Linked DNA regions of Homo sapiens: regions 1, 3, 4, 5, 6 and 7 are each linked to region 2. The links are contacts of gene promoters, found by promoter capture Hi-C in blood cells and fetal thymus (Javierre and others, 2016). All regions are on one chromosome and are shown on one strand. Each heading gives the region's core, a stretch centred on a gene start or on the middle of the fragment in contact. The rest is flanking DNA. Distances are from core to core; before and after follow the strand shown. Region 1 overlaps RABGAP1L (RAB GTPase activating protein 1 like). Region 2 holds the start of PRDX6 (peroxiredoxin 6). Region 3 has its middle 64 kb from the start of FASLG. Region 4 has its middle 110 kb from the start of FASLG. Region 5 overlaps RC3H1 (ring finger and CCCH-type domains 1). Region 6 holds the start of LOC107985225 (a long non-coding RNA gene). Region 7 has its middle 80 kb from the start of FASLG.

Evidence for each region. The method cuts DNA at HindIII sites, captures the fragments that hold promoters and counts their contacts. A CHiCAGO score of 5 or more calls a contact.
Region 1: a fragment that was not itself captured here is called in contact with the fragment with the promoter of PRDX6 in region 2 in 1 of 17 cell types (fetal thymus); the score reaches 7.0 in fetal thymus.
Region 3: a fragment that was not itself captured here is called in contact with the fragment with the promoter of PRDX6 in region 2 in 1 of 17 cell types (monocytes); the score reaches 6.3 in monocytes.
Region 4: a contact is called between a fragment that was not itself captured here and the fragment with the promoter of PRDX6 in region 2, in 1 of 17 cell types (monocytes). The highest score is 6.0, in monocytes.
Region 5: a contact is called between a fragment that was not itself captured here and the fragment with the promoter of PRDX6 in region 2, in 4 of 17 cell types (neutrophils, fetal thymus, monocytes and 1 more). The highest score is 12.5, in neutrophils.
Region 6: a fragment that was not itself captured here is called in contact with the fragment with the promoter of PRDX6 in region 2 in 2 of 17 cell types (total B cells and naive B cells); the score reaches 6.5 in total B cells.
Region 7: a fragment that was not itself captured here is called in contact with the fragment with the promoter of PRDX6 in region 2 in 4 of 17 cell types (naive CD4 T cells, naive B cells, total CD4 T cells and 1 more); the score reaches 6.6 in naive CD4 T cells.

What each region holds. Positions count from the first base shown.
Region 1 is chr1:174,218,766-174,221,465 of GRCh38, reverse strand. It overlaps RABGAP1L (RAB GTPase activating protein 1 like), which reads right to left. Exons shown (of 26, transcript NM_001366446.1): 2 at 2,171-2,341; 3 at 302-494. The coding sequence starts at 2,308. Among named protein-coding and RNA genes, the nearest start is that of RABGAP1L, 61 kb to the right of the region's middle. RefSeq lists a silencer at 862-981. The HindIII fragment of the contact is 2,217 bases long and covers 205-2,421 here.
Region 2 is chr1:173,475,908-173,478,648 of GRCh38, reverse strand. PRDX6 (peroxiredoxin 6) reads right to left here and starts at 1,314. Exons shown (of 5, transcript NM_004905.3): 1 at 1,157-1,314. The coding sequence starts at 1,251. It overlaps LOC100506023 (a long non-coding RNA gene), which reads left to right and starts at 1,494. Exons shown (of 3, transcript NR_037845.1): 1 at 1,494-2,017. RefSeq lists enhancers at 1,116-1,275, 1,773-2,309 and a silencer at 1,346-1,515. The HindIII fragment of the contact is 1,817 bases long and covers 1-1,626 here.
Region 3 is chr1:172,721,850-172,724,549 of GRCh38, reverse strand. No RefSeq gene overlaps it. Among named protein-coding and RNA genes, the nearest start is that of FASLG, 64 kb to the right of the region's middle. The HindIII fragment of the contact is 6,552 bases long and covers 1-2,700 here.
Region 4 is chr1:172,767,492-172,770,321 of GRCh38, reverse strand. No RefSeq gene overlaps it. Among named protein-coding and RNA genes, the nearest start is that of FASLG, 110 kb to the right of the region's middle. The HindIII fragment of the contact is 4,412 bases long and covers 1-2,830 here.
Region 5 is chr1:174,016,627-174,019,532 of GRCh38, reverse strand. The region is part of intron 1 of RC3H1 (ring finger and CCCH-type domains 1); the gene reads left to right. Among named protein-coding and RNA genes, the nearest start is that of RC3H1, 4.3 kb to the left of the region's middle. The HindIII fragment of the contact is 2,618 bases long and covers 3-2,620 here.
Region 6 is chr1:172,815,247-172,818,103 of GRCh38, reverse strand. It overlaps LOC107985225 (a long non-coding RNA gene), which reads left to right and starts at 407. Exons shown (of 3, transcript XR_001738297.2): 1 at 407-551; 2 at 757-890; 3 at 1,976-2,546. The HindIII fragment of the contact is 152 bases long and covers 1,438-1,589 here.
Region 7 is chr1:172,738,015-172,740,714 of GRCh38, reverse strand. No RefSeq gene overlaps it. Among named protein-coding and RNA genes, the nearest start is that of FASLG, 80 kb to the right of the region's middle. The HindIII fragment of the contact is 5,998 bases long and covers 1-2,700 here.

The DNA of each region.
Region 1 (2,700 bases), core at 64-2,563, 740 kb before region 2:
ACACTATTCTGTGACACCCAAGTATTTACTCATTTGTTCAGTAAGTATCTGTTGAGGACCTACCATGCATGAAGTACTAGGGGTAAAATGAGGACCCAGACATAGTCTTTGTTCCCAAAGAACATTAAGACCTGATTTTTATAGGCAGAGATATAGGCAGAAACATAACACCGAAGTGGAAACTCTCAACAAGAACTGAAAGCTTGAGAAGAGCTAACAATTTTTTCTGATTTTCATCTTAAAATTTTCACTATTACTTTATCCCATTTCTTTAATAGTTTCTAAGAATTCAATACAGTACCTGTGTTAGACGGATCCAAAATTAACTGAAGAGATGGCTTATTTGTTTGGCTGGCTGGAATATCTCCAAACGAATGGTCTGAAATCTCACTGGAACTTTGACAATCAACAAGAAGACTGCTTGGCCTTTTCTCGGAATCTCTCAAAATCTCTTCCATGGCTTTTTCCAATTGTTCATCACCATTAGAAACTATCTACAGACACAGCAAGACAATTCTGTTTCAATTCTACCATAGTTCTGAAGCTAAATTTTATGAAAGTATTTCATTTCTAGAAGAAATTAAAACAATCTAAATATTTAAATATAGTTACTAAAATACTAAGAAGTTGTTTCACATATATAATACATTAAAATCCTGGTTATAAAACTAAATTAGAGGAAGATTATTAGTTTCACAAAAGGATTCTTTATAAAACACTTAAGACAGTTTCCAACTACATTTTATATAAGATCCTATTTACAGAGATGTATTTATCTTTTTTTCCCCTTTCTTTTTAAAGACAGAGTCTCACTCTGTCACCCAGGCTGGAATGCAGCGGTGCAATCTCAGCTTATTGCAAACTTCGCCTCCTGGGTTCAAGCGATTCTCATGCCTCAGCCTCTCAAGTAGATGGGACTACAGGCGTGCACGACCACACCCAGCTAATTTTTGTATTTTTTGTAGAGACGGGATTTCCCCACATTGGCCAGGCTGGTCTTGAGCTCCTTACCTCAAGCAATCTGCCCACCTTGGCCTCCCAAAGTGCTGGGAGTACAGGCTATGAGCCACCACGCCTGGCCCTTCTTTTTCTTTTTCTTTTTTAGGAACACACCCTAAAAATCAGATAACCTTAAATTTACATGTCTAAAGGAAAAAATAGGTAAATTTAAATCGGGTCTATTATGAATATCATTTAAAAGGTTATATTTCTTGTTAGCACAGCATAACCATATTTCTGATTTCTTTACAAATTGTTGGCTAGCTCCCAAGATGAATATTGCTAATTTCCTTACACTTAAGTTGACTCATAGTTTTCTCAAAGGCAGGTGAAACACAAAGCCTAAGCAAATAAGTGATGTCTTAAACACAATAATGCTAAAATACAGGTATCTAAAAATAAAGCCACTGATTATTTAAATAAAATTATAAAACAATATATTCTCAACATAAACATTTAGTAATCTCATTTTCAGAATATATTTTATTAGACTGATATATTAATACACTTTTGATGCCATAGTTAATACTAAATAAAAGTCATAAGTAATATATAGCACTTTTAACTACTTTTCCTATTCCTGTTTCTAGAAGACAGTTATACCATTTTCAAGCCTATATAACTGAGTTTACTTGCTTCCTTTTCTTTGACTTAGAAAGTGCAACACAGAAGTGAAAAAGGGACCATATCTAAATAAAAACTCAAATGCTAAAAATATAAGATATGCTTTAAAAACATTTAGACAAGTCGACTGTTAAATCACACAACGGAACGTTACCAGCTGATTTAAAACATAAAAATCATAAAGAAAAAAGTCTCTCAAGTGAAAGCAAAACATTTAATTAACTTCTAAAACCCAGCAGTAAGAGAAACAAAAACATCCAGATAAAGTAATGTAAAATTTAACCATTATGTCTAATTCACCAAAAAATCCTTTCTCTTCTTTTTCTTCTTTTATTCTTCCCCCTAAAATTCCAAATCAAAAGGTAAACAACCAAAAGCAAGAACTTTTTAAAATACACAAACCAAATAATTAGGGTCTGGATAAATCAAACATTGATTTTATTTTGAAAGTCAGCACTTGAGAAAAACCTTTGCATTTTACACATCTCCTAAGTTTCAAATAGTTTTTAATTAAAAATTATACCATATGTAGAAAAGAAAAAAATACCTTCAGTTGAGGTTTTTCTTCATGTTTTGTAGAATTATCATCTGCATACTGAGGAACCAAAACAAATTCTTCACTGTTCATTGTAGCCACAGAATCAGATGATCCACTAACCTTCTGTAATGAAGCTCTGACCTCCATTTCAGTTCTGCAAACTTCTCTTCCCACAACCACCTGGAAAAACAAAAGGGATTAAAAAAAAAAACCTACTGATTAAAAACATGAACTAATTAAAAACATGAACTAATAAAGCTTTAAAAATGGTTTATGTGAAGAAGAATCCTGCTGGCTAGATAATTATCTCAAAGTTAGGGAGGCTACCTTCTTGGACTGAGCCACTTAATGGAAATGTACTCTCTCTTCATCCTAAGTTTCCAGACTAATAGAGCCATATTGTTACCTAAAAATTTACACAAACCAGTCCATATCTCAACCAGATTTATCACTGTTTACCTGACACACTCACTCTCATTTCTCTTAGAAATACTGTTTTCTTTTTAATAGAGGAAATAATTAAATGATACTAGAAATAC
Region 2 (2,741 bases), core at 65-2,564:
CCTTGGAGCCCCACAGTGTAGTGGGACCACTAGTACTCCAGAACCATAATATAACTAGACATGCCTGGAATGCTTCTGATGAAAACTAAGCAACTTCCAGTTTGCTGATTCAGGAGCTGTTAAAAAAAAAAAAGGGCAACACCGATTTACTACTCCTATCCATAATGGTAAAACTGCCAAGTCAGATCACAGGTCATCAATTTGGCTATCATCAGCAAGCTCATGTGCTAGAAGCAAGGTAGAAAGCGGAGGGGACAGTGAGGGGCAAGCCACTGGAAAACAAGAGAGTCTCAAAGTTGGGGAGTACACGTGTCCTGGAGCCTGGAACGGCCATCACTAGCAAGAATAGGCCACTCCAGCGGAACAGCGTCAGAAAGTCCTTCCCTCCAAGTGTTGCAAGTTCTGGAATCTCTGAAGGCACACCTACGCAGAGTGTTCTTGGCTCTTCCTAAAGCTGTTATCAAATCATATCTTGGCCATTGGAGGCGGCTCTGGACAAAAAGTCTTTCGGCCACCTACTTGGCAGCTAGTGGTTTTAAATTTCACATTTTGTGCCCAGAAGCCTGCAAATACCACTGCACCCTCAGATGATACGTTGGCCTTCCTGTAACCTATAGCCAGCAGCTGTGTCCTCCGACTTTGGCTTTAGACACCCATCCTCCCCAGGGAGCAAATTCCAGAACGGAGGGTGGGAGGGCGGTGCGACCCTGGGCACTAGTCCGGGGAAGTGATCGTCAATGCCGCCCCGCCCCTGCGCCCTCGGCCTGACCACGCTACCTGCACAGTTTACTAAGACGAGTTAAATGGACAACAAACCCTCCCGCGGGCGGTGAGTTTCCAGAACCCGCAGAACACAATTTTATCCTCCCCACCCCCCACCTTGGCGTGGCCTTGCCCAGCCACGCCGGAGGCGGGGAGGCCAGGAGGGATCGAGTGGCCCGCGCAGGGCAGGCCGAACGGGTGCCAGCTCCCAGCAGCGCAGCCGACGCTGAGCAGAGGCCACACGGCCTGGCGCGCGCCGGAACCAGTGCGGGGGAAGGCGAGGGCGGCGCAGGGGGCTGAGCGGCCGGGAGGACGGCAGGGAGAAGAAACAGGGAAGGCACCTCCGAGTCCGGCGCAACCGAGGCCAGGACAGGGCTACGCGGTGGCCACTTACGAGTCTCCCAGAAAGTCGTGGAAACGGATGCGGCCGACGGTGGTATTGGCCTCAAAGTTGGGAGCCACGTCCCCGAGAAGCAGACCTCCGGGCATGGCGACGGTGATGAGGGGGCGCCGCTGGGACAGCAAGCAACCGGTTGGTTCTGGCGAAGAAGCAGCCTGTCCCAGCGCGCGGAGGAATAAACGAAGGCGCGAGGGGCGGGGACTGGGGCGGCGGGGGCGGGGCCGCGGGAGGCCGGCCGCTGGGGGCCGGGCCGCGGGGGCTGGGCTGGGCGCGGGGCGGGGCGGGGCTGGGCGCGGGGCGGGGCTGGGCCGGGCCGGGCTGGGGCCGGGACGCGGCGCGAGCTGGACTACCGCGGTCGCTGTTGGTGGCGCCGCCGGGCCTGCGACTAGGTGGCATCCTTCAGACACTATAGGCCGTCTCTGCACACGTGATGCGGGGCTCGGTCACGTTGCCCCCTGGAAGCTTGAGGATGCGCCAGGTTTGACTCTGCAGGGCGTACGCGCTTTAGGGATGGAAGGAAGAGGAACGCGGCAGGAAGGCGAGCCCCAAGGTGGAGAATCGCCTGGGCGCGCAGGCTGCGGCGGCTTCGCACAGCCGCCCTGGGCGCTGCACGGGTCCGCGCGCACCCTGCTGCGCACCCACTCGCGGCCAGCTCCCTACAGAGGAGTGGAGTGACTGCTCGACTACCACCCCTCTTTTAGTGTGAGCGTCTGGAGTCCTGACCGCCCCAGCCAGCCCAGCTACGATGAACTGTCTAAGAGGATGTGGCAAGACCCAGAAGTATGGGTGACCTTATGTCAGAGGAAGTGGCTTTCTTATTGCAGCAAAAATTCCCGTACCAATGTCAGTGCTAGGGTAATGTAACTAAACTTTTATTTATTTTTATTCTGCCCTCCCCTTTCTGTTTGTTATGAACCATAAAATATTCAACACAATTATCTTGAAATCTAAATATAAAATTTAAAACATACTCTTTGAGACCTACTGTGTGCAGGTCAACTCTGTCACCCAGGGAGGTGGGCGGCTTAGATTCATTTATTTGCTATGAGCCAAGTACAAGGTAGATAAGATGCCTGTCCTCTTGGAGCTTTCCTTCTTGTGAAGGGAAACCGGTGACAGACAATAAGCACACAAACCAAAATATGTTAGACAGCAATCAGTCGTATTCAGAGAACTAAAATAGGGTTATGTGCCTAGAGGGTGACTGGGGGGCTGCTTTGGTTTGGGTGGTCTGGTCTGGGAAAGCCACCAGGATAATGTAGGTAAACTAGTCAGCTCACGGTAGGTGCTCTGGAAATGGTAGCTATCGTTTGGATGATGACACTGGCTCATGCAGTAACTCTTGCTTTGCCTGCTGTGTGCTGGACACTGTGCCAGGCCATACAGTGGAGAAACACAGTCCCTGCTGTTACAGGGAAGGCATATTTATATGCAATTATAATAAAATGTAGGGTAAATTCTGATGGGGGAAGGTGTAAATGATTGGAGTTCAGAGATGAGAAAAATCCTCTGGATGGGGCTGGCAGGTTTAAGGCAGGGGCATGGCAATGTTGAGAGTAGTGACTCACATACTGTGATT
Region 3 (2,700 bases), core at 182-2,681, 750 kb after region 2:
ATTGAAATATGCACAGTAAAGTAAAAACCTCACATAATTTCATCACATAAAAAGGACATAAATACTAAAAGAAGTTTCACTTTCATTCCCAGAATGCTTTGAGCCTACCCCACCCCTATTCATCTTAACCCCACCCCTCCCACTCCCAGAAAACTACAGTCATTTTGTTATATAACTTTAGAGACTTCTTTCTGTGATTATACACACACAAATACACAAATATTCTTTTTATTTTTTAATTTTTAAAATTTTTAGACATTTAGGGGGTACAAGCACAGATTTCTTACATGTATATATTGCTTAGTGGTGATGTCTGTTCTTTTAGTGTACCCATGACCTGAATAGTGAACATTGTACCCAATGGGTAATTTTTCAACTCTTACCATGTCCCTCCCACTCTCCCATTTTGTTATCTCCAATGTCTATTTTTCCATTCTCTATGTCCATGACATACACATATATTGTTCTTAAATGAGACTGTGCTATGCATATTGGACTGAAATTGCTAAAAGCATCTCATACTCATGCTTTCAGGTCACTATTTATGGGTCACCATACCAAAGCTCCTGGGAGATTTCCCTGTTATTTCAGAGTCCTGAAAATGAATACTGCTATATATAAAAAAACACTTTCTATAAGACTTCCTTAATCCTTTTCAGGAAGAGTAAAGTATCTCTTCAACTGTTTTCCTAAAACATGTGTGTTGCTTATATATTCACTGTATCCCTAATTACATTCTTTTAGTATAGGTGCCAGTTACTGGTAACAACAAAAAAATCAACCTCTGCCAGAATATTTAAAGAGGTTTATTCTGAGCCAATATGAGTGACTATGGCCTGGGGAAACTGTCTCAAGAGGTCCCGAGAAAGTGTGCCCAAGGCAGTTGGGTTAACGTTTGGGAGGGAGACAGAAATTGCATGTCAAAACATAAACGAATACATGGGAGTTGTACATTGAGTCTATTCAAAAAGGCAGGACATCTGGCAGTGAGAGCTTACAAGACACAGGTGAGTTTAGGGATTATTTAGTTGGCAATTGGTTGAAAGAGTTGAGCTTTGTCTAAAAACTTGGAGTCAGTAGAAAGGAATGCTTCAGTTAAGACAAGGGGGTCTGTTTTCTGTTACATGATGCCATACCAGAGTCTGGTTGCAAAAGTAAGCCACAATATACTGGGTCAAAAAAACTTGTTTAACATAATTTTATGTCTTGTAGATTTGACTCCCTGTGGGCCCTTAAAAAGAAATCTGAGAAAGTAAAAATGTCAGAGTTCAGTCCTTACCTGTTTTTTTCCACTAGACTGCAAAGTTCTTACTGAAAAAGGCCTTCCCTACTCTTGACACCTGGACTTCCAAGGGTCTGGAATAAGGCCAATCAAGCCACAATATCTGAAAGAACATGCGATGGGAAGTCAGATCTGAGATTTACGCTCTACCCTGCTAATAATTTGCACCTCATGTGGAGAAGTTCCAGCCCACCTGGATTGTCGCTTCTTCGTTTTTAAAATCTGTTTACATTCAAGGACTGGGATAAACTAGATGTCCTTTAAGGCCACTTCAAACTTTAACATGCGAAACACAAAACTGATGTCTGCAACATGGAATAGTAATAGCTAAAGAGAAAAATGCTTACTATCAAAATATTATTGTTGTCTGACACTAAAATACATATTTTGTGTATGAGACAGGGTCTTGCTGTGTTGCCCAGGCTAGAGTGCAGTGGCACGATCTCTGCTCGCTGCAGCCTCAACCTTCCAGGCTCAAGTGATCCTCCTGCCTCAGCCTCCTGAAGAGCTGGGACTACAGGAATGCACCACCATGCCTGGATAATTTTTGTATTTTTTATAGAGACAGTGCTTTGCCATATTGCCTAGACTGATCTCAAACTCCTGGGCTCAAGCAATCTGCCTGCCTTGGCCTTCCAAAGTGCTAGGATTACAGGTGTGTGCCACTGTGCCCTGCCTGTAAAATACACATTTTAGTCAGTAAAAGTTAGTTACATGTAACTATTCTTATTTGTATGTGAATAACTCTTAAATTCCCATCAGCAACATAGTTAGAAATTATTCCTTAGAGTAGGATATTTTACAGATGGCTTTGTGGCAGGCCAATTCTCCCTGACAATCACACAGACAGGCCTGCATGACAGTCACACAGACAGGCCTACATAGCACTCCAGTTACACAGACAAATTTCCATAGCACTGTCTTACCATTGAGCAAATAGTCAAACCTAGGGAAATCAATGCCCAGACATCAAAACTAGAAATGAAACATATGGTCAGTAGGAACCTTGCATGGGCTTCTCCCTAACCTGGAGCAAACCAAAATAATAGAGACAGTCTTACATTCCTACTGCCAGGACCCATCTTGCATTGACAAAATCTGAGACAAGTCAAGGTAACAGAGGCAGCTGTTTGAATAGATTCATCGGAGAGTCTAAGGCAGCTCTCCGGACCAAGCTGTAAAGGAGATGAGATAGAAATAATCACTCTGGTACCGCAGTAGACAGGCCTTGAAGGTACTGGGGCCCTTTTAATTGGACTTAGCAAGCAATTTTTGCCTCTGACCTTCTAGTTGAAACAGAATCAGTTACCAATAGACTTAGGCGAATGCTATACTGCACATAGGCACATAGCCCCAACCTATATAAGCGCTAAGAAAATTGTAACACTTTGAGTTGGTGGAATTACCTCCGGCCTTCT
Region 4 (2,830 bases), core at 213-2,712, 710 kb after region 2:
CTTGGATTTTATATCAGACTTCCTCAACCTCAGCACTATTGACATTTTAGATTGCAAAATGCTTTGGTGTTGGAGGTTGTACTATGCATTGTAGGATGTTTGGTGGCATCCTTGGCCTTTACCCACTGGACGCCTGTAGGAGACCTTGCTCCTTCCCCTAACTCCATTGTGACAAACAAAAATGTTTCTAGACATTGCTAAATGTTACCTGGAGGTAAAACTGCCTTTGTTTTGCAATCACTGCTCTGTAAGAAGCGGAAAGTCACTGAAAGGTTTTAAACAGGGGATAAAAATATTGGACTTATGTTTTCTGAATGCTACTATGATAAGAATGGGTTGGAAGAAATGAGGGTAGAAGTAGAGAGAGTTGGTAGTTTGAACTAGGGACTAGTTTAGTTCCAGAAAAGAAAGAATAAATAAAACAGAATGAAGAAATATGGAAGGTAGGGCTTGCTGATAGATTCTATGTGGGGGCAATGAAAAGGAAGGAAGGTTTGAGGGGAGGGCAGAGAGGTTGAGAAATCAACAGCTTTGTTTTAGACATGGTAAGTTTAAAATGACTGCTTGCCATTGCAGAAGAGGTGTCAATGAGAAGATGGATACATTAATTTGAAACTCTAAGGAGAGATCAGAACTGGAGATAAAAATTTGGGAATCAGCCTGTAGATAGTATTAAGCCACAAGCCTAATTGAGAAACATTTTGTGTACTCCATAAATATATATACTTACTATGTACTCACAAAAATTAAAATTAAAAAAAGACTAGATGAGATCATCTAGGGATACCATAATGACAGTGAAAAGAAGAGGCTATTTTTCTTTACCTATTTCTTCTTTAATGAATTACCAATATATATCCTGTGACCATTTTTTATTTGAGGATTTCATAATTTTGTATCATTTTGAGGATGATTTTAATATTAAGAATATTAACTGTCTAGCTAATATGGTAATCAAATCTAGTCATCCTTTCCTCTATGGATTCTGAATTTACTGCCATGCTCCAGAAATGTCCTACTTGTTACCCTAAGATTATAGGAATATTCATAATGCTGGAACTAAGATGGGCCTAATCACTTTCCCCAACTCTTCTCTGGGTTGTAACTAACTATTGAGTAAATCCACAGTGAGCTAAAAGGAGAGTAAATATATATTAATAAAAACTCAATAATTCCTGTAGTACAGAGCTCCCTGCTAAAACACTCAGCTTATAGCTGAAGCCAAAATAGAGCTTTCCTAAATCCAGAGTTGGGGAGTATATGGCCTACCAAGAAGATGACATGAGTTTTTACCCAACTAGCTGCCCCACAGGCTTATCAACAGTTGGACAGAAAGGCCAAGAAAGCCCAGCAGAGTAAGGCACCTCCAGGCCCGCTCCAACCTGAGCCAGCTGCAACTCTTCTACAAAAGGAAGAAGAGCTGAGAGTACACTGTCCTTACCTCTCCATGCTATGGTCAGTGCAGGAAAGAGAGTGTGAAGTCTGTTCCTGCTTTTAAAGCAAACCATACCTTCTAGGACACTGGACTCAACCTAGGGGATAACAGAGTGTTACCCATCAGGTTAACTACTCCTCCTCCCTTAGAGAATACCATGCAAGTGATCAAAAGAAACACAGAAACCCCCTCTCAGGAACTCCCTAGAAAGGATGGAAGGATAAATGGGACTTCCTTTTCATATGGGCTCAGAGAAATATGGGTGGGGAAGAAAAGAGTCTTCCCACTAGAATGCACCTAAATTTTTTGTTATTAATTTCAGAAAACATTACACTTTCAGGTTTTCTGCTAATAAACAACATGCAAATATCTTCACCCCATTCCTCAGCAAAGCTGATGCTGAATGACAGAATGGGGGAAGGTTTTGGACCATTTTGTGGTGGTCATTTCTCTGAACTAAGTGAAACAGTCTATTTATAAAGACTCTGCTACACGTGGCACAGGGCCTCATAATCTGCTTGAAGCATAAGCGACCTGGGCCTATTTTGTTCATCAGCAGCCAGAATAGCAGCAGCAGCAATAAACATCCATGGACTGTCTACTGGACATGGGGCACTGTGTGAGGTCCTGAAGGAAGAAAGGTATAAAGTTCTATCCTTATCTTCAACATCTGGTCAGGAGAACTACCCTTGCTGATAGAATTTTCTTTTCTAGGGAGTAGATTTTTTATACCAGAGAACCTACCAGACTTTACTACCATATGAAAAGGTTTAAGGAAGTTTTCTGAGTAATTATTTGGTACCCAGATATGCCTAAAAACCATAAGGTAGGCAGACTTCTAAAGATATCTCCCCGAGAGTTCCACACTCTGGCTATTCAATCAAACATTAGTATAGGTACCACTGTGAAGAGATGGTATTAGGGTTACTAATCAGCTGTCCTTAAAATAGAGAGGCTATCTTGGATTATCTGCGTAACTCCAATGCAATCACATAAATCCTTAAAAGCAGAAACTGAGACAGAAGACTCAGTCAGAGAGATGTGACAGAAGACGTAGGCAGAGGAGCGTTGAGGAAGAAAGGAAGGTCATGGAGAGATAAAGGATGAAAAGAACTCCAACTTCTGTTGCTAGGGGTGTGCATCAGAGAACGCAAGTGCTCTCCAGAAACTAGAACAACTCTGGACCAACAGCTAACAAGGAAATAAATCATTCAGTCCTACAATGGCATGGAACTGAATCTGGCCAAAATCTTGAGTGAGCCTGGAAGTCAGCTCATCCCCAGATGCTGGCATCTTTATTTCAACCTTGTGAGATTCAAAGCAGTTTCAGGTGCTGTGCCTGAACCTCTGAGCTACAGAACTGTGAGATAATAAATGGATGCTGTTTTCTGCTGC
Region 5 (2,906 bases), core at 62-2,561, 540 kb before region 2:
CTTCCTCATTATGCTGCAGTATTAGTTCTGTTGTCCTCATTTTTTCATATGAAGAATGTGAAGCTAAGAGTAGCTATGTAACCAGCAAAAAGATCACATAATTAATAGGTAAAAGAGCTTACTCAGACTCAGATCTTGTGACACAAATTAGATTCTTTGCCACTACCACATGTGTCACAGTTAAACTTTGAAGCATCTTCTGTGTTGACAGATTCCTTTTTTTGCCTGTGAACTTACCCTATTATCATTATTTGTATCCTGTCAGATATCTACTTGTAAGACCAAGAAAGTATTTGTTCATGTGAATCACAAAAGAAACACTTAAATTTTTGTTTTTAGCATATCTGAATGCTATAAAATATAAAAACTCATACTGTTTACATAGGACAGATTTATCATACTGCTGTAATTGTTTTCATGGTTAATTTGTTACATAGGCAATTACTAAATTGTGCCTTTGAAATACTTTATAAATTTTTTTAAATAATTAAAGATATTCAATGATGTTAAAGTTGGGTCAGCTAATATTTGAAGTTCTTAATTTATAATTTTTTTTCTTTAAGCCATAGATAATTTAGAATTCTGCAGTATTTTTCATCTCCAGATCTTAGGGCTTGAAATGGATTCTGATGGGTCTAATCAGTCCACTCTTGCATATATCTTGAAAATGGTCAGCATCCAACAAAGTGAAGAATAAACTGATAAATGATCCCTGTTTGGTGAACACCTCAGATCAGGATGTTCCTTGGCAGGGTATTCTGACCTGGTTTAGCTTTGGCCCCGTCTGTGCTCAGGGTTCAGGTATTCTGCAGGATTGGGTTCAGAGGGATTAAAATTCTCAGATTGGCCTGTATCAAAACAGTCACAGATTTTGGTCAGCCTTTTCCCAGAACCGTCTCCAAGATTTTTTCTTTTGTGTAATTCTGGAATCTAGGCTGGATTTGGACTAGCTTTAGAGGTTATGATAAAAGATTAATTTTGTCAGGCATTTATACAAAGGAGGTTTTCTTACTACAGAGTTTCTTAAGGTAGATTCCTTCTATTTTTGAAGTGTGACATTTACCAATCTGAAGTAATGTTGCCCTACATCCCCCAGACACTTAACTTTAGCATATTTATTTCTGTCCATTTTTGGTCAGGATTGTGCCTGTTTACTTATATAATATTCTTGTTTACTTTTTGTTTATTAGATACTTCTTATTAGTTTATATTGTTTTCCTGATTGAGGCTTGGGGAAAGAATTTTCCTCAAATTTAAAGTCACCTTACTTATTTGCAGATGTATGTCAGAGCAATATTCTTTTGACAGTTATCAAGCATTTTAGCAATGCTGTATGTATATATTATGAATGAATGACAGAGTCACTCATGGTCTGTCACCCAGGCTGGAGTGCAGTGGCATTATCATAGCTCACTTCAGCCTCAAACTCCTTGGTTTAAGTGTTATTCCCGCCTTACCTGGCTACTTTTTTTAATTTTTATTATTTTTATAGAGATAGCATTTTGCTGTGTTGCCCAGGGTGGTCTCAAACTCCTGGGAGCAAGGTGATCCTCCCACTTCTGCCTCCCAAAGTGCTGAGATTACAGGCATAACAATGTTTTAAACTGACACTGGTATACCTTCACTGATTATTACTGTGCACATGTGGTAATAATTTAACTTATAAGTGCATTTTATCTAAAAAATTTCCAAGATCTAAATAGCATTTGAACATGGTAGCAGTTTTTTTTTTTTTTTTTTTTTTTTTTTGAGCAAGAAAAGAGTTCTAAAGGGGTCAGTTTTATCTACAGATTAACATAATTTTTTTTATTGAGGTTAAGTCACATAACATTAACCATTTTAAAGTAAACAGTTTAGGTGGCACTTTATACATTCACAATGTTGTTCAACCACCAGCTCTAATTCCAGAATGTGTTCATTACCCCAAAAGGAAACACTGTACCCATTAAGCAGTTACTCTGTATTCCCCTCTTCCCTAATCCCTAGCAAACGCCATTCTGCTTTCTGTCTCTAATTTGAGCCAACATCGAGGAAGAGTACTCTGTACAATTGAAATTGCAGAAAAAACTTTGGGATGTGATTGTTAGGAATAAAAAACCACCTAATTCTTTGCATGCTTCTCTAAGTACAGTAGACATGCTGCCAGGGACTCTTTATGGAAGAAAAGTTGAGACTCATAGAAGTTTGCAGTTTTGTTTTGATCACCCCAGAGGGTTTTGCTCAAACTCTTAGACTCATTTGTATTTCTTCATTGGGTTATAAGAACTAAAATTTAATGTTCTATACAAATGTGAACAACTAATACTTGGTCTCCTATCTAGAACTTGTTTGCCTTTTAGGTTTTCTTAATGTATAGAAGAAACTAGGAATATTCACAAAGGATTTATTTGAAGTTACACTGGGAAACGATTTTTAGAATTTGAAGCTCTTTGATCCCTGTGAATCTAACTTTATGACTATTTTATTCAGCTAATCTTTGAGAATATTTAGAGTTTTGATTTGCGTGGCACTCTGCTTTTAATCCCTTGTTGAATAAGTGTTAGAAACCTTGATCTTGGCCCTATACCTGATCACCTCTAAAAACATGAACAGTGTTACAAAGGCAGTTGTTTAGTAAGCTTTTTTGGATTGTTTTAATTGGCTGACTGAGGGAGACAAAATTAGTTTTTTTTTTTCTTTCTAGAATAAAGGGTAATAAACTTGGACTTTAGAGTTACTGCTAAGATTGACATTTCCATTTGGGGCTTTAGAAATATATTGTTATCTTAAATTCAAAATGGTACTTTATCTAATTGAATTGAAATCTTAAAATTTATGAGAAACAAAAGTCACTTTATGTTCTTAGTAAATATTTCTAATGGGGTTATAGGAGATCTAAGTACAAAAAAAATTTAAAATTTTGTTAT
Region 6 (2,857 bases), core at 264-2,763, 660 kb after region 2:
TTAATAATGCTATCCCTGGGATAATCCTTCCACTTTCACCACCATCAAAAACACCACAATCCTCTGCTTGTCCCCAAACTGTCTGACTACACCAGCAAATAGACATGGCTAGAGGAAAACAAAACATTCTATTTTCATGTTGTTCAGGTGCCTGGAGTACATATCTGGCACATAGTAAATTAAATATCTGTTAACAAGTATTTGTTGTTAAGTTGTTCATTTGTTTTATAAAGACAGGTTCTTGTGAGCAAGAACTGTCACCCATACTGGAATGCAGTGATGCGATCACAGCTCATTGTAACCTTGAACTCCTTTGCTCAAATGATCCTTTTGCCTCAGCATCCTGGATAGCTAGGACTATAGGTGAGCACCACCATGCCCAGCTAATGCTTTTTATCTTTTGCAGAATCAAAGGTCCTTGTATGTTAGGCTGGTCTCAAACTCCTGGCCTCAAGCGATCCTCCTACCTTGGCGTTCTAAAGGGATTACTGGTATAAGCTACTGCACCTGGCCTATTTGTTGTTAAATGAAAACATAGTCTTCCTTAGGAGGTAAGATGAGTGACAAATTACTTGAAAACTTGGTCAGGTGTTTCATATTTATGTAAATTGGTGAGATTAAAGGATGGGACCCATGAATGAGCTTCGGGAGGGGGGTGTCCAAAGTTTTTTGTCTTGTTATTTTCTGTGTGTTTTTAATGAACTCCTCATGTGCTATGAATCAGAAATCTATAGGTTGTATATGTTTTTCTTACAGGATATTCTCTCCCACAAGTACCTTGATGTGCATGAGTGTTAGAATACTACTACATTGTAGAATGAGGTGGGAAGAAAGTGAGATCCTTTGATAAAACAGAAATCTTAAAGAACTGTAATAAGAATTGACATCAGGTACTCAGTCTCTCTCCCTCGATAGTTCTTTACCTCACTTTATAACCTAACAAGTGTGTGCTTTTAGCTTCATTAAACACAGTCCAAGAGTCAAAGGCAAAGCCTCATCACTTTGCCTTTCTTGTCATCCTAACCCAGTAACTCTTTTTTTCTCTCAAGCTGCACCCATTTCCATCATTTGACCTTCTATAATTCCCTCAACCATTCCTTCAAAGCTCAGTACTAATACCCTTTTCTCCCTTATTCCCACTTTTTTCAAAGTTCCCATCTTTTTCTCCTACCCTGAAAATTCCCCACCCCGTTTGTTCATCCCTCTTTATTTCATGCACTTATTCTTACTCACCCGATTTGACCTTTGTATTTGCTTTTCTTGTGGGGTTACCCATATTTTTTACTTTCTCTTTTCCATTTTTGTCACACCTCCTGCCAAAAAACAAACAAACAAACAAACAAACAAACAAAAAACCTTTTCTCCTAGAATCCCACTTCCTTGCTCTTCTCTCTAGGTTATTCTTACCTTTCTGCTCCTCTTGAATTATATAAAGCTTGACTTCTACATTCTTACTTAGAAAGAAAATGTAATGATTCTTAAATGTCTATTACTTGTGTCCTTGGATTTTACCCCAGAACTTTTTCAGCTTCATCTAGAGTTTTTATAGATCAATATTGGCATATAACAGGACCTCCTTGTTTCAAGCTTCTTCCCCTCACATATTCACTATAGTAAAGGAAACCACATAAGCTTTAGCAAATTGGAAGGGACAAAGCTGACAAAACCATAGAACACTCAACTTGCTCTTCTTCTTCTTATTTCCTCCTTCTGTATAACTTCTCTCTGGCAAATTGTGTCGTATTATATCAACTTGCATATGATTGATTCTCATATTATTTTTGATTATAAATAGTCACATATTAGTGACTATTATAAAAGGCGATATTTCTTAATGATTAAGTAGAAGAAAAAAGAGATTAATAAGGGGGAGAAAAAACTATTACTTCTATCTAATAGTTAGTAAATGGTATTGAAAATTCTTAGGACATATATATTCTTTATGTCCTTTTGTTTCTCTCTCCTCTCCTTCTAGGACTCCCATGGTACATATATTGGTATGTGAAAAAATAATGGCAGAAAATGTCCCAAACTGATGAAAATCTTAATCTACACATCAAAAAAGCTCAACAACTCCAAGTAGAATAAGCTGAAAGAGGTACACACCTACACATGTATTAGTCAAACTGTCAAAGATAAAAATGAATCCCAAAAGCAGCCAGCAAAAATGATTCATCACATACAAGGGATCTGCAATGAAATGAACAGCTGACATATGATCTGAAACTAAGAAGGCCAAAAAAGTTGGATGACATATTTAAAGTGCTAAAAGAAAAAGAATCTCACACAAAAATTCTATATTGAGCAAAATTTTCTTTCAGAAGTGAAGGGGAGTTTAAGACATTCTCAGATAAACAAAAACTGAGAAAATTTACTGCTAGCAGATCTCCCTCACAAGAAATAGTATAGGGAATTCTTCAGGCAAAATTAAACAACACTAGAGAGTAACTTGAATCCACACAAAGAAATAAAGAGCATAAGTAAAGTTAAGTACATGGTGAAATTGAGTTTGATATTGTCCAGTCTGAGGAACAAAAAGAAAAAAAAGCGTGAAGAAAAATAAACAGTTTAAGAGTCCTAGGGATCTGGTGAGAGGTAATTGAATCATGGGGTAGTTCTTCCATGCTATTGTCATGACAGTGATTAAGTTCTCATGAGATCTGATGGTTTTATAAGGGCTTCTCCCTTCACTCAGCTTTCATACTTCTCCATGCTGCCGCCATGTGAAGAAGGATGTGTTTGCTTTCCCTTCCACCATGATTGTAAGTTCCCTGAGGCCTCCCCAGCCATGTTGAACTGTGAGTCAATTAAACCTCTTTCCTTTACAAATTTCCCAGTCTCAGGTATGTCTTAACTA
Region 7 (2,700 bases), core at 63-2,562, 740 kb after region 2:
TAGAGTGGTTGAATGGGGTGGTTTTGTTTGTCTGTTTGTTTGTTTTTGAAATGGAGTCTCGCTCTGTCACCCAGGCAGGAGGGCAGTGGCACAGTCTCAGCTCACTGCAACCTCTCCCTCCCAGGTTCAAGTGATTCTCCTGCCTCAGCCTCCCAAGTAGCTGGGACTACAGGTGCACACTACCACACCTGGCTAATATTTTGTATTTTTAGTAGAGACACATTTCCCCATGTTGGCCAGGCTGGTCTCAAACTCCTGACCTCAAGTGATCTGCCTGTCTCAGCTTCTCAAAGTGCTGAGATTACAGGGATGAGCCACCACACCTAGCCCTGAATGGATTTTTTTAAACCCTAACTATATGCTCTTTATAAGATACTTACTTCAGCTTCTAGGACATGTATAGACTGAAAGTGAAGGGATAGAAAAAGACATTCCATGAAAATGGAAAGGAAAAGATAGCAAATGTAGCTATACTTACGTCAAAATAGACTTTAAGTCAAAACTGTAAAAAGAAACAAAGAAGGCAATTTTTAATGACAAAGGAATCAATATATTAAGAAGATATAACAATTATAAATATATATGCAGGCGACATCAGAGTGCCTAAATACATAAAACACATACTAATAGATCTGAAGGGAGGAATAGACAGTAAAACAATAATAGTGGAGGACTTCAATACCTCACTTTCAACAATTAATAGATCATTCATACAATCAATGAGGAAATATTGGACTTAAACTACACTTTAGACCAAATGGACCTAACAGATGTATACAAAACACTCTCTCCAACAGAAGCATGTACACATTTGTCTTGAGTGCACATGAAACATTCTCTGGGATAGATCATATGTTAGGCCACAAAAGAAGTATTTAAATATGTTAGAAAATTGTAATCATACCAAGTATCTTCTCTGATCACAATGGTATGAAAATAGAAATTAATAACAGGAAAATTCAAAAATATGTGGAAGTTAAATAATGTGTTCCTGAACAGTTAATGGGTAAAGAAAAGAAATCAAAGGGGAAATTTTAAAATATCTTGAGACAAACAAAAATGGAAACAAACATACTAAAACTTAAGGGATGTAGCAAAAGCAGTTATAAGAGGGAAGTTCACGGTAGTTAATGCCTACATTAAAAAGAAAGAACTCAAGTAAACAACTTAATGTTACACTTCAAGGAACTAGAAAGAGAAGAACAAACTAAGCCCAAAGTTGATAGAAGAAAGATCCAAGCAGAAATAAGTGAAACAGAGACTAGAAAGCAATATAAAAGATCAATGAAACCAAAAGGTTTTTTTGAGAAGATTTTTAAAATTCAGCTACACTAAGAAAAAAAGAAAGAAAACTCAAATAAAATCAGTAATGAAAGAAGAGACGTTATGACAAATACCACAGAAATACAAAGGATTGTAAGAGACTACAAGAAACAATTATACACCAAAAAACTGAACAGTCTATAAGAAATGGATAAATCCTAAATATGTATGTGTATATATATATATATATATATATATATATATATATATATATATATATACATAAAACTTATCAAGTCTGAAACAAAAAGAAATAGAAAATCTGAACATACCAATAATGAGTAATAAGATTAAATCAGGAATCAAAAATCTCCCATCAAATTAAAGCCCAATAATAGATGGCCTCACTGGTGAATTCTATTAAGCATTGAAAGAGGAATGAATACCAATCATTCTCACTCTCCCAAAAAAATCGAAGAGGAGGGAAAACTTACAAAGGGATTTTTATGAGGCTAGTACTATCCTGATGCTAAAGTCAGACAAAGACACTACAAGAAAAGATTACAGGTCAATATTCCTGATGAACGTAAATGCAAAAATCCTCTGACAAAACAGCTACAAATTGAATTAAACAGCACATTAAAAGAATCCTACACTATAATCAAATGAGATTTATCCCTATGATGCAAGGATGGTTCAACAAATGTAAATCACTAAATGTGATGCACCACATTAACAGAATGAAGGATTACAATTGTATGATCATCTCAATAGATGCAGAAAAAGCATTTGAAAAAAAAATCAGTATGCTTCTATGACAAAAACTCCCAACAAATTGCGTTTAGCAATAATGTACTTCCACACGATAAGGTCATATATCACAAGCCTACAGCTAACATTCTATTCAATAGTGAAAAGTTGGAAGCCTTTCCTCTAGGATCAGGAACAAGATAAGGATACCAACTCCCACCACTTATATTCAACATTGTACTGGAAGTCCTAGGCAGAGAAATTATGAAAGAAAAAGAAATAAAAGCCATCTAAATCAGAAAAGAAGAAGTAAAATTGTCTCTCTTTGCAGATGACGTGGCCATATATAGAAAACTTTAAAGACTCCAAACACAAAAAAACTGTTAGAACTAACAAGTGAATTCACTAAAGTTACAAAACAGAAAATCGACATACAAAAATAAGTTGCATTTTTATACATTAACAATTAACTATTCAAAAAAGAAATTAAGAAAACAATTCAATTTACTATAGCATCAAAAAGAAGAAAATACTTAGGAATAAATTTAACCAGGGAGATGAAAGATCTGTATACTGAAAACTTTAAAACATTAATGAAAGGAGTGGAAGAAAAAGAAACCACAAATAAATGGAAAGATATCTTGTGTTTATGTATTATAGAATCAATATCAAAATGTTCATACTACC